2 separate regions of the Homo sapiens genome follow, and region 2 is linked to region 1. Evidence: promoter capture Hi-C in 16 types of primary human blood cells and fetal thymus (Javierre and others, 2016). All regions are on one chromosome and are shown on one strand. Each heading gives the region's core, a stretch centred on a gene start or on the middle of the fragment in contact. The rest is flanking DNA. Distances are from core to core; before and after follow the strand shown.

Region 1 (7,045 bases), core at 762-3,261:
GCACTTTGGGAGGCCGAGGCTGGCGGATCACTCGAGGTCAGGAGTTCGAGACCCGCCTGGCCAACATGGTGAAACCCTGTCTCTTCTAAAAATACAAAATTAGCTGGGTGTAGTGGGGCATGTCTGTAATCCCAACTGCCCGGGAGGCTGAGGTGGGAGAATAGCTTGAATCGGGGAGGTGGAGGTTGCAGTGAGCCGAGATCGCGCCACTGCACTCCAGCCTGGTAACAGAGCAAGACTCTGTCTCAAGAAAAAAAAGAAAAGAAAAAGAAAAAAAGCTTGCAGTTCCATAAATTCATGAAATAGTTCTTAAAGCTTCTTATTCATGTAAGGTCTCATCCCAATACAGACATTTGTTATAATACCAAAAATGCTTTCCTGAAAAATCTTACTTTCTGCAAGATACATAAAAATAAGAGGTGCTTATGCAATCAACAGGATTAAGGGATAGACCATTCAAAACCTACAGAACATTATAACCAGGACAAAATAAAACCAGTACCATTTCTAATAAAAATACTACCTTTGAATCTCTACTAGCATAACCTTAAACCCCAGGGCTTGTCCTTTTTCCTTGAGATGTAGTCTTTAAAAGCACTGCTTCTCATAAACCGTTTTAATCAAAATAAAAAATCAGATCCATGACATAGCCTTCTTCATCAATCCATTGTTTTAACATAGGGAGAATGTAGCTTCTTCATGTGCATTTTTCAGCTTTCTCAGACAGCTTAACTTCAGGGGCTTCCCGCTGCACTTACAATAGAACTCAAGGTCTTACTTTTTGTGGTCCAGAACAGCGCTGTCCAACAGAACTTTCTGTAATGATAGAAATGTCCTATATCTGCACTATCTAAAATGGTAGCTGCAGCCACATGTGATGATTGAGCACTTGAAATGTGGTTAGTGCAACGGAGAAACTGAATTTTTATTTAATCTTACTTTATTTTAACTCAAATTTAAATAGCCACATGTGGTGAGTGACTAACACATTGGACAATACAGCTCTAGGGCTTATCTTCTTACCAACTACACTATGTCTTGCAATTTCTTGCCATCTAGGTAGCCAACATGAGGAGGTCTATAAGATATCCCACCACACACACCCGCATCCACATTACTTTTTCATTCTCATTTTTCATGACGCTCCCACTCTTTGTCTACTTTCTGATTATGATTTTTAAATTCCTCTAATATGCCATTTTATTTCTATCTTCTGGGCCGAAGAAACATGCTGTTCTCTCTGCCCTCCTCGCCCTAATCCTTAACCTAACTTCTACTCATTTTTCAGGTCTCAGCGAAAGGGTCACTTTCTCCAAAAAGCCTCCGCTAACCCCCGACAACCTATATTAGGTTCTTCCCACTCTTCTGTTGTCTGCCTAGAACTCTTTTCCTTGCTAACACTTAAAATTTGTGATCGTCAGTTTATCTATGTTTACCGACTTTCTTGACTGCAGAAACTGAATCTGTTTTGTTTACCACTGCATCTTGGTACCTAACGGAGTGCTTGGCGCACAGTATTTGTGAGATGGAAAAATGAGAGACTGGGCCACATCATCAGGACATCCGACCTCCACCAACCAGAACTTAAAAATCCTCCTAGCCATACCACAAGGCAGATCCGCGTCCTCGCTCCCCAAGCAAAGTTGGCCTCAACTGATCTGGAGCAAGGACGCCTCAGCTCAGTACGCCGCTCCCTCCCTCCTCTCCAGCCAGGGAAGGGATGCCTACGTAACCTCGGCTTCATCCCTTCTTCAAAGGGGAATGAGGCAGCGGTAGAGCCACAGTGCGCATCGGCCACCACATACCTTAGACATCGAGGACGTAGCCATGGTCTTACTGACTCTGCGTATTCCAGATGCACTCGGGATTTCCCGCGCGCCCTCGCGGCTGCAGGGCAGAGGTTAGTGGCGAGCCACACGGCTCCTTGATTGGCTGGCATCACCCTCCGGGGCGGGTTTCCGGCGCGGGGAGGCGGGTCGTATAAGGAGGTGGGGCGAGGCCGGAACTGGCGGACTGCGGCGCACTTCCGTAGAGGTGGACATGGCGTGCGGCTTTCGCCGCGCTATTGCTTGCCAGGTATGGATCCCGGAGCGCGCAGAGGAGTCCCTGAGGAGCTAGGGACCCCAAAGGCCTTTCACCGCTGCGGGCCAGTCCTCAGTCAGCTGGAGGGTGGGTCCCACGGAATCCTGTTAGTTTCTACCACCTCCTCCCCCTTCTCTGGAGCTGGTGGAGCTTCAGAAGTCCTGTGGAGCGTCGGCTGGGATCAGTTTGTCTCGGTGAAAAGTAAACTTTGAAAGGTACCTGGTGCTTTCTTCTCTCCTTCCCACCCCACAGCTATGAATGCTTTACCTGGGTGGCGGCAAGTCATTAGACCATGATTAGACCCCATAGAAGTTAGTGTTCTTTACACTTTAGTGACATTGATGATGGATCTGGATTGTTCTTCAGAAGGACCTCATTTTAAAGCTGCTTATTTCTCTTGCAGTCACTTAGGCAGCCTACCCTAGAATTGTTTTTGGTAACGCCCAAAGATATAAGAGCTATCTGAGACTCAGTTTTTCTTGGTTCAGGGTCGTATTTGAACAGCTCTGTTGTGAGGAAGGGCTTACAAAATTGCAATATAATTGCTTTGTTTTGTTTTTCCTTTTTGTGGAGAACGGGGTCTCGCCGTATTGCCCAGGCAGGCCTCAAACTCCTGGGCTCAAGCTGTCCTCCCTCCTCTGCTTCCCTAAGAGCCGGGATTACAGGCCTGAGCCACCGCGCTGGGCAAAATTGCAGTATAAATGTGGAATTAATCAAAAAGAATTTTTAAGACTCATTGGCCACCCTTGCAAGGAAACTTTCTATTGTGGTCTTGGCTAACCCATTTCCTTCTGATTAATGGATGTACTAGTGGACGTAATTAGCCTGGTGTATAATTTATCTTGGCTCATTTTTACAGTATTTCTAGACATTTGTGGGGAAATCCCTCTGCCTTGTCTTTATGTTTATAGATGTACTGCCCTGTCCGGTGATAATTCGCCAAATATCACCAACATGACATTTTGTTAAGACAGCTGAATTTATTGCTCACTGGGATAAGGAAGAACACCACTGAGAGCTTTGGTAGTGTATTAAACTGGGAAAGCAAGGTCAGATTTTACTGATGGGTATGGCTTAAGGCTGGTCTTTCAGAGGGAGAGGGTAGGAGGGTGTTGGAGGAAGATGGCTTGATTAGGGTTGGACTCTGATCTGATACAGCGGTTTAAGATTGATAGGAAAAGCAAAGAGTGCAAGAAGCCTTAAGGCATAAACTATTGAGGTTTTCTATTGGAAGAACTAATAGGCCTGGCATGTGGTTCATGCCTATAATCCCAGCACTTTGGGAGGCCAAGGTGGGAGGATGGCTTGAGCCCAGGAGTTCGAGACCAGCGTGGACAACATAGGTAGACCCCGTCTCAACAAAATTTTTTTTAAAAAGTAGCCAGGCATGATGGTGCACCTCTGTAGTCCTAGCTGCTTGAAAGGCTGAGTCTGGAGGATCACTTGGACGGACCCACGAGTTTGAAGCTACAGTGAGCTATGATTGTGCCACTGCACTCCAGGGTGGGTGACAGAGCGAGACCCTGTAAACAAAAAATAAAAATAAAAAACGTGAAAAGCTAATAGATTTCTCATGAAGTTCTTATAATGAATGATTAAGTTATTTGGGCAGAAGTCTTCTAGAACAGTAAAGTTATGCTAATGAAGACAAAAAATAATAAATTCATGTTAATGTAGACAGTAAACCATATCAGGGAAGGTAGTTTTGGACCTTAGTATCTAAGCTGTGTGTAAGGGTGGACGTTTTCCATTCTTAGCCCTTAAGTAAAGATAGTGCCATGATGAGAAACAAATTGTGTTTAGTTTTGCAAAGGCTGTGTTCTTTGTAAAGACTGTAAATTGGACCAGGCATGGTGGCTCACACTTGTAATCCCAGAACTTTGAGAGGCCGAGGTGGGAGGATCCCTTGAACTGAGACGTTCAAGACCAGCCTGGGCAACATAGGGAGACCCCCATCTCTATAAAGAAATAAAAAACAAAACTTAGGTGTAGTGGCACACACCTGTGGTCCCAGCTGCTTGGGAAGCTGAGGTGGGAGGATCGTTTGGGCCCAGGTGGCTGAAACTAGCAAGCTTTGATTGCACCGCTGCACTTCAGCCTGGGGGACAAAGTGAGTCCCTGTCTCAAAAAAAAGAAAAAGATAAGTTGGAGAAACAAGAACTAATATATTGAGTATATATTTGTGCTAGTTACTACACATTCACATTTAAGCTCATGGCAACCCTGTGATATAGAAGTATTAACCTTATTATATAATTGAGTCAGTTGAGATCCACAGAGATTAAATAACTTACCCAAAGCCACATCATCAATACATTGTAGAGTTGGTTTATGAACAGAACTCTAACTTTAAAATTAGATCTTTCCTATATACTGTGCTCTTTGTGAAAGCAAGAAGCACAGTCCAATCATTGAACAGAATCTAATGGATTTATACAGCAGTGTAAATTATGCAGATATATATGTATTTCTCTGAATATAGAGTCATTGGGGAATGATCTGAAACTTGAGGATAAATAATAATATTTTCAATACGTTAGGACATGGGGAAAAAAGAGCAAAGAAAAAACATGTTCCGTACAGTTTGAGCATCCCTAAGCTGGAAATCTGAAATGCTCCAAAATTTGAAACTTTTTGAGTGCTGACATGAGACTCAATGTTCATTGAGTTCATTGGAGCTCAATTGGAAATTGGAAATGTTCATTGGAGAATTCCAGATTTTCAGATTAGGAGCTGGGTATGGTGGCTCATGCCTATAACCCCAGCACTTGGAGAGACTGAGACAGGCAGATCACTTGAGCCCAAGAGTTCAAGACCAGCCTGGGAAACTAATTAGAAAATTAGTTGGGCATGGTGGCACCCTCCTGTAATCCCAGATACTTGGGAGGCTGAGGTGGAAGGATCACTTGAACCTGAGAGGTGGAGGTTGCAATGAGCCAAGATTGTGCCACTGAACTCCAGCGTGGGTGGTAAAGCAAGACCCTGTCTCAAAAAATAAATAAATAAATAAATAAATAAATAAATAAATAAATAACCAACCCCACAGATTTTCAGTTTAGGGATGCTCAACAGGTAAGTATAAAGCCAATATTCCAAAATCTGAAAAAATTCAAAAGTTGAAACACTTGTGGTCCCAAGGATACCCAGCCTGTATTTAATACCTTTGCGAATGAGCATCGTTTTGCTATAATAGTTTAGGAATGAAGGAATGTGTAACGTGCAATGGCAAATGCATTTAGCTAACTTTGATTAATTAGTCGACAGTTTTCTAAGCACTGTCATCAGTCCCAAGGCTAAAAGTGAACGGAAAATAGTTTCTGCCCTGAAATGGCCTCAGACATGCTTGGAAAACGATGTAAACCGGTAATTGCATTGCAGCCTGTAATCACTGTATTAGAAGCATGTGCAAAGTGCCAAGGGAACTTGAAAGCTCCTAAGGGTCAGACAAAGTTTTGTAGAAAGGTGATGTTAGGTCTCAGTTTTGAAAGGGATATGGGTAGGAGTGTGCCAAGTAAATAGAGTGAGAGCTTGGGGAGAGGTCAGGTATTGCAAGAGGAGGATGTGCATAGACACAGACATCTGGAAAGCATGATATGTACATAGAATCACAATATTTGGATTCCTTTCTTCAGCAAGTCCTGTTGATTTTATCTTTATATCTTGAATCCATCTACACTATTGCTGCTGCCTCCCCCTCTCCTTTCTCTATTCCACACCAAGCCCCCATTATCACCTATATTGACTGCTTACAACAGCCTTCTGATGGGGTGTTTGTTTCCATTCTTGCCCTCCCTCCAGTTCATTCTCCATGTATCAAGAAAGGTGACATCTAAATTGTGAATCAAATCATATCACTTATCTTTCTTTGTTGCACGAGTCTCTACCAGAACCTTAACTTCTTCAACTTCCATTCATGCCCCATTCTATCATTTTTGTAGGAACCTAGCTACAATGTTAATTTGTTTTTCTAACATAGCAGGGTCTTTCCATTCCCATTGCGTAGATTATTCCTTGTGCCTAAAAGAAATGCATTTTATACTATCACTCTTTATGCACGATGAAAGTTTCATGAAACAATACTTATTTATACTGTATTCTGTCCTGTTTTATACGTATTTTTTAAGACTGGTGGTTGGGACTCAACAGAATTTATTTTTATTTTTATTTATTTATTTATTTATTTTGAGATGGAGTCTTGCTCAGTCGTCCGGGCTAGAGTGCAATGGCGTGATCTCTGCTCACTGCAAGCTCCGCCTCCTGGGTTCACGCCATTCTCCCACCTCAGCCTCCCGAGTAGCTGGGACTACAGGTGCCCGCCACCACACCCGGCTAAATTTTTTTGTATTTTTAGTAGAGACGGGGTTTCACCGTGTTAGCCAGGATGGTCTCGATCTCCTGACCTCATGATCCACCCATCTCAGCCTCCCAAAGTGCCGGGATTACAGGCGTGAGCCACCGCGCCAGGCAAAGGAATTTATTTCTAACTGGCAACCTATAATTTGAAAAGTGTGTCCTCTAGTTCTCTTAGTCCCTTGTTTGCTTCTATGATGACAATAATAAGAGTAATTGTTTTGTTTTACTTGTTTTAGTGTCTGTTTCCTCTATAAGCTTCATGAAGACAGAACATGTCTTATTCACTCTTATTTCCTCAGCACCAGCAAAGTGCCCGAAACATAAGTGTTTAATGTGTATTTGAAGAATGAATACCTGAGTATCTCTGTTGTGATCTCATATAAAATATGCAGCTTCACTGAATGAGTTCATAATTTTAAATCTATGGAGATGACGTGGTGTGGTGGCTAAAGGAACTCCATCTTGGATGCTAATCTGCCATGTTGACTTTTGATTATCCCCAGTTCCAGGAATACCTGTAAGATTTCTATTTTATCTACTGTTTATAGTACTTAAGGGCAGGATTTCTATTTTATTTACTGTTTATAGTACTTAAGGACAGGATTTATAA
Region 2 (6,225 bases), core at 2,886-5,385, 1.3 Mb before region 1:
ACATGGGCTTAGAAACAGACATATACAAATTCCTGAGCAGTGGAGGATGGCAAAATGAGAGGAGAATAAGCAAGTTGCAACTGTGAAGTTAAAGCATATAGTTAGGAGTTGGACCTTCATAATATTGGATGAGATTTTTGGTTCCAGTCTGCCTGCTTGATTTTTAGGGATCTAGATAGCAAGCACTATTGAGTCTGGAATTACAGGCTCTGGAACTTGGATTTTTCATCAGAGCCCATAATTATAGCAGTCATACCATTGACAGTTTGCAAATTAATTTTTTAAAATTGTTGAGTAGTTTGGAAAAAATTTGCTCCTTCCTTACACTTGGTATTTAATATGTCATTAATTTTGTGGAATAAGAGAGAGGAATCTAGAAACTGACACTGGGCCCCATGCCCTGCCAAACTCTGTCATAGTGTTGCTTTTTAAATTGACAGATTTACACAAGACTCTAAATCTTGATGGTTGAAGGGACTTTCTTGAAACAGACTTTGAAGACGATTAATAATCTGTTAATAGAAATAAGCACACACGGTACTTTGATAAGGCTTGAGATTTTTTGATTCTTTATGGTAGGTATCTCTACGTCTTCAAAATTTACTTGTGATGAATTAACTAAAATTAAAATGAAAGTTACAGTCTTTTGACTGTCGACTTTTCTATAGACATAATTTACCCAGTACTGTTCATTAAGATTAAACTGTTTAGATAAACAGGACATAGTAAAAAATTTGTGGTAGAAGCCACATATAAACTAAAGATGGCTATGCTTATGTAGAAGACATTTAAATGTTGGCAAATTGTCCAAATCTTCAGTGGCATGCTGCTGGCCTGCCGTTTAATATACAATTAACATTCTAAGATCAAAGACTAGTTAGATTAATTTGACAATTAAATTGGTGAAGAAGTGAATAGGCTTTGCAATTTAAAATTAAATAATACATGTTGTCTGCTTAATTACTGTTGTGTTCATGTAAGTGATCACATAATAGAAGGGAGCTGTGGGCTTAAAGTGAATTTAAGACCATAAAGCCATAATCAGTCACATCTGTTTCATGACTTTAAGTTGATGTGGTACGAGTGTGAAAGAAGAGCTCATTCTTTGAAGAGGCCTGCTGTACTTACAGAATCAATAAGTCAAAACAAAAATAACTGTAGGGTTAGAATCTCTTATATTGCCGAATGAAAATTTTGATAGTTTTTGGTAAAGAGATTATGTTAGAGCTATGTTGTCATTTCACTGACTGTTAGCAGCAGTAAAAAGTCAAAAAATGGTTAGACAGTGTTACTGTGTGTGTGTGTTCTTTTAAATTTGTTAATGTGAAACTGAGGATCTTAATATGAGTCCATTGAATTTCTGGGAAGATGACATAAGGTAAAGTCCTCAAGACTGCCCCCTCTTCAGACACAGTTGCAAGTCTTAGCCTCCAGAACTTCTGACCAGCTAGCTTCAATTTGGAGTTCTCACAACCCCCTCTTTGGATTCAATTAATTTGCTAAAGCAACTCACAGAATTCAGGGAAACTTACGTTTACTGGTTTATTTTAAAGGATATTACAAGGAATACAGATGAAGAGATGCATAGGATGAAGCATGGGGAAAAGAGTGCAGAGCTTTCACGTCCACCCTGGATGTGCCACCCTCCAGTAACGTCCACGTGTTCTGCTGTCTGGAAGCTCCCCAAACCCTGTCCTTGGTCTTTTGTGGAGGCTTCATTATGTAGGCGTGAGGGAGTAAACCATTGACCATTGGTGATCAACTTAATCTTCAGCCCGTTCTCCTTCCTAGAAGATGTGGGGTGGTGTTGAAAGTCCCAACACTCTAATCTTGCCATGTTCTTTCCTAGTCCCCATCCCGAAGCTACCTAGAGCTGCCAACCATCAGTCAACTCATTAATATACAAGAAAGCATCATTTTGGTGTTTCTGAGGATTTTAGGATTTGTATGCCAGGAAACGGTTGAAGAACAAATATATGTATATTTCACAATATCACAGATGCAAACAAATGATGTTTAAATTATCTGGTCTTTTTCTGAGATTCATTAAGTTTAGATTGTATTTCTATGGAATTATAGTATAAATCATAATTAGGTGCCTAAACTAGCCTCTAAAGCTTATTCCTAAGGTAGCTAAATTACTTATTATGTATATATACTATGAAAAATGACAAAATGTACTGTTTCAACACTGGTAATTAAGCAAACTGCCATTGTAACATAAGAAGTTTATGAAAACTATTTTGAATAATTTAAAAACTTTGGGGAAAACTGGATTTTATAAGATAAGGAGATAGAGACTATTATATAAGGAGGTTGTGAAAGGGGTTTTGACACTGATTCTTTATTGTCTAGATGGATTAAACAACTTATTACTTTAAATTTTGCTTTATACAGAAGTGTCACTAGCTTTGATCAGAGTTTTCGTTGGTTCATGAATGGAACTAAGTTAAAGGAGGTGAGAAGGAGAAATACGTTTTTTCTTTTTAAAAAGTTGTAAAATATACTTAAGATTTCTTATTTAAAAAAAAGAGTTGAAAGAAACAGGAAAAAATGGGTTAAAGAAGACATGGGTATATCTTGCAAAAGAGGTTATCAGAGGCAGAATTTACTGAGCAGTGAGGTAATGAGAGAAACAGGCAAAGTGTGCATGAGCCCCATGGGGAAGGAAGAAAGTTGGAGTTTGGCAAGTCAGCTGTTCTTGTATTGTTTTTTGAACACATGACAGGTGTTGGTGAGTAGGGGGCATGGTGTGACCAACTGCTCCTATGTGAGGAAGGTTTATATATTCTGTCTGGGAAAGTGGTCTGAATTTTCTTTATAAGAAATTTTAGTATACTTGAATTTATTTCTGTATACTAATACAACATTGAGAATTAGCTTTCAGGGACTTCTGTGCCAATTCTATTGGGAATAAAAATGAGAAGAAAGGTAGCTTGTATAGAAATAGCAGAGGTTTGGTAGTGAATTCTTATGAGAGAAAAGATGTACAGAGAAAGTAAACTCTAGAATTAGCATTATACACTTGTCTATGTTGAAGGATGGTAAATAGATGGTGTGTCTCTTGGCATGAAGTTACCAGGTAAAGGGCTAGTATTATGTAACCCTTGGTATTAAGGATATGTTAGGGACATTACAGTGGGATTTCATCATAGGCACATTAAACCTCCTTACATTTAGCTGTATATATTGAGGCAAAAACAACAACAACAAAAAACCCATTAACATGTTTTTTTTTTTTTTAAGTTAAAAAAAAAATAGAGATGTGGTCTCACTATCTTGGCCAGGCTAGTCTTGAACTCCTGGCCTCAAGTGATTCTCCGCTTTGGCCTCCCAGAGTGCTAGGATTACAGACGTGTATCACTATGCTTAGCCTTCTTGACTGTAAGCAATAGAAATCAACTTTGGCTAATTTATGCAACGGAATAAATAAGGAGAACCACTTTTGGAAAATGGATAGGAATCAAGGGAAGCCAGCAGCAAGGACCAGAGCCAAGGTCAGGGCACAGGAACACTTTGATTAGGAAGCCACCATTAGCACTTGCTGACAATGTCTTTGCTGTTGCTATAAATAATTCTGCAACTATTCTTGTGCCTCTCTGTCACTCAAGTTAAAAGTTTTGGGAAAGGAACATGGATAGTCTGGTCTAGATCCTGAGCCTATTTCCAGCCTGCTAGGGGTAGGGAAAATCTGGGCCTTTGGTTTCCATCTAAACTCATGGTGTCCATCGTTTCTTCCAAACAAAATGGGACAATTACTGCTTCCTTCTTAAATGCCCCATGGCTCAGTAAATATGCCCAGTTCCTGAAGCCAGAACTTGGAACTTCTCTCATTTTCTCAGTCACATATCCAGTAAATAGCATATTGAATTACTGTCAGTCTGCAACTTGAATATCTTGAGTTTATCTATTTATCTCTAAAATTATTGTTACTACTGTCGTAGTCACTGTGATTTCTCACATGGTCTATTACAGAGGCCTTATAATTTCTCTTGTCTACAGATTGACCCCTATTCTGTTGGGGTATACATTATGTGGTGATGAACTTTTAAAAATGCAGGTGAGATTATGTCATTAGTTTGCTTAAAACATTTTAGTGGTCTGCATTTATTTACCTCCCATCTCTCAGTTCGAGTCCACCCTTTTATTCTGTGTTAGGGGCTGGGACTTTGCAACCTACATTTCCCAGACTCCCTTGCCAGCTTACTTCGTGTTAAGTTTTACCACTGGGAGCACAGGCAGGAATTTGGAAGGTGAGAGAAGGGACTACTCTTATTCCCAGTTTCTGTAAGGACACCTCCAATAGCAAAGGACAACTATTACTCCATTCTCCAACTTCTTTTGTCACTCTCTGCACCAGTCTTGCTGTTTCCTCTCAGAGATACCAGCTTCTGGGCAAGGCATCCTAGGTAGATAGAGTGCCACTTGTATCACTTCCTAACCTGCTGGACTTTATTCCCTTAGTGGTTTGACCATCCTCTATTGGACACCTGTTCATAGGGATTCAAACTTAAGCTACAGGGCCATTTGTGGCCACCTCCTTAGAGGTTAGAGCATTCTGCCACATGGACCTCTTTCACCTTCTTCCAGGCATAGCCCTATAATGCTTTTCTTCCAAGCTCCTAGCTTTTCAATAACAGACCTCTTTCATTTTGTTCCCCTAGTCCTGCGGGTCATAGTGCTTCCTGCAACTATTAATCTCTGAGTTATTTCAGCCTTCCTGTTCTATGTTCTCAGCTTTCCAGTATCTTTGTAACCAATGTGCTGTATTATATATATCTCCTGGGTTTGAATTCTGCATTATGGTTTCTGTTTGTCTCATACAAGTAGTTTTTTGTTTTCTAAGATAAAGTTAAAAAAAAAAGTTAAAATAACTAGTAGCTGGGGGTGGGGGGATTAAACAGATTTTCAGACTGAGTACGGTGACTTATGCCGGTAATCCCAGCACTTTTGGAGGCTGAGGTGGGAGGATTGCTTGAGCCCAGGAGTTTGAGGCTGCAGTGAGCTATGTTCACACCACTGCACTCCAGCCTGGGTGACAGAGTGAGATCCTGTCTCAGAAAAAAAAAAAAGTTTTCATAATTCCTATTTGTCTGTTACTTCTTTAGTCTCATTTCATACCATTTTCCTGCTTTCTCTTTACACTTGAGTATTCTGAACCTTTTTTAGTTACCAGAACATTGCTGCATTCTATCTTGTCTGAAGGACATTGCACCTACTAGTCTGTGTACTCCAACCCTCCCATCCCTCATTTCTCTTCTTCTCTCACATTACAACCTGTGCTGGGTTGACTCCTACATATTGAATGTGAGGGTTAGTATACTGTAGAGGGTGTACAAACAAACTATTGTCTAAATTTTAATATCAGCGTTGCCGTTGTGTCAGCGTTATGACATTGGGCAATGTCTCAGTTTCCTCATCTGGAAAATGGGGATAATAATTTTACTGACCTGGTGAGGTTGTTGTAAGGATTAAATGAGTTAATAAATGAGTTAATAAAAGTGCTCTTTTCTTCAGAACATAGTAATTGCTCAGTAAGTGTAACCTGTTGTTATTATCAGCTATGCATGAATTCCTCTGGAATGCCTTCCATGATCTCCAAACTCTGACAGGCTCTACCTTTGTAGGCTCCTGTAATAGCTTCTTCTTCACTGTTCTAATATGTATTATGGTTGGAATTATTTAATATCTTGTTTTCTTTTTAAGAGTGTAAATGATGTGAAGTTGAGAAGAGAGTCTGTGCCATTTGCTGTTATAACCCTAGCATCTAGTACTGCCTAGCATCTAGACTGGCTCCAGGTCGGCCCTTTAACTTATATTTTAAAAAATAATTGATTAAAAAATTTAAGAGAAAAGCCATAATAAGTTTGATAGGGGCTAGGAAAAATGGATAGAGATAGAGATGGTGGTGAAATAAATCAATGTAAATGATCAGCTTTTCTGTTTTTATTGCCCATCAAAATGCTCTAGTATGGAGGCTGTATGACAGAAGAAGAGGAATATCTGTTGTTTTGAAGCCACTGTGGTACAAAGAACAAGGGTTAGAATCCTGTCTTAATTCATTGCCACTTTGCAAAGGGAAAATGTTTCTCTGGGTCTGATTATAGACTACATTTCTGGCTTGGTGGCTTTTTTCCCCCTTGTAAAGCTTTAATTTTGCCCCCTGTGTCTAAAAGCAATTTGTGTTTATTTCTAAAAATTTTGAAAGTACAGAAAAGCTTAATG

The links. The method cuts DNA at HindIII sites, captures the fragments that hold promoters and counts their contacts. A CHiCAGO score of 5 or more calls a contact.
Region 2: a contact is called between a fragment that was not itself captured here and the fragment with the promoter of RARS2 in region 1, in 6 of 17 cell types (naive CD8 T cells, naive B cells, total CD8 T cells and 3 more). The highest score is 7.5, in naive CD8 T cells.

What each region holds. Positions count from the first base shown.
Region 1 is chr6:87,584,953-87,591,997 of GRCh38, reverse strand. It overlaps RARS2 (arginyl-tRNA synthetase 2, mitochondrial), which reads left to right and starts at 2,011. Exons shown (of 20, transcript NM_020320.5): 1 at 2,011-2,076. The coding sequence starts at 2,041. ORC3 (origin recognition complex subunit 3) reads right to left here and starts at 1,863. Exons shown (of 20, transcript NM_012381.4): 1 at 1,806-1,863. The coding sequence starts at 1,829. RefSeq lists enhancers at 1-45, 46-546, 1,927-2,156, 1,920-2,881. The HindIII fragment of the contact is 3,839 bases long and covers 318-4,156 here.
Region 2 is chr6:88,857,843-88,864,067 of GRCh38, reverse strand. The region is part of intron 8 of RNGTT (RNA guanylyltransferase and 5'-phosphatase); the gene reads left to right. Among named protein-coding and RNA genes, the nearest start is that of RNGTT, 100 kb to the left of the region's middle. The HindIII fragment of the contact is 4,031 bases long and covers 2,120-6,150 here.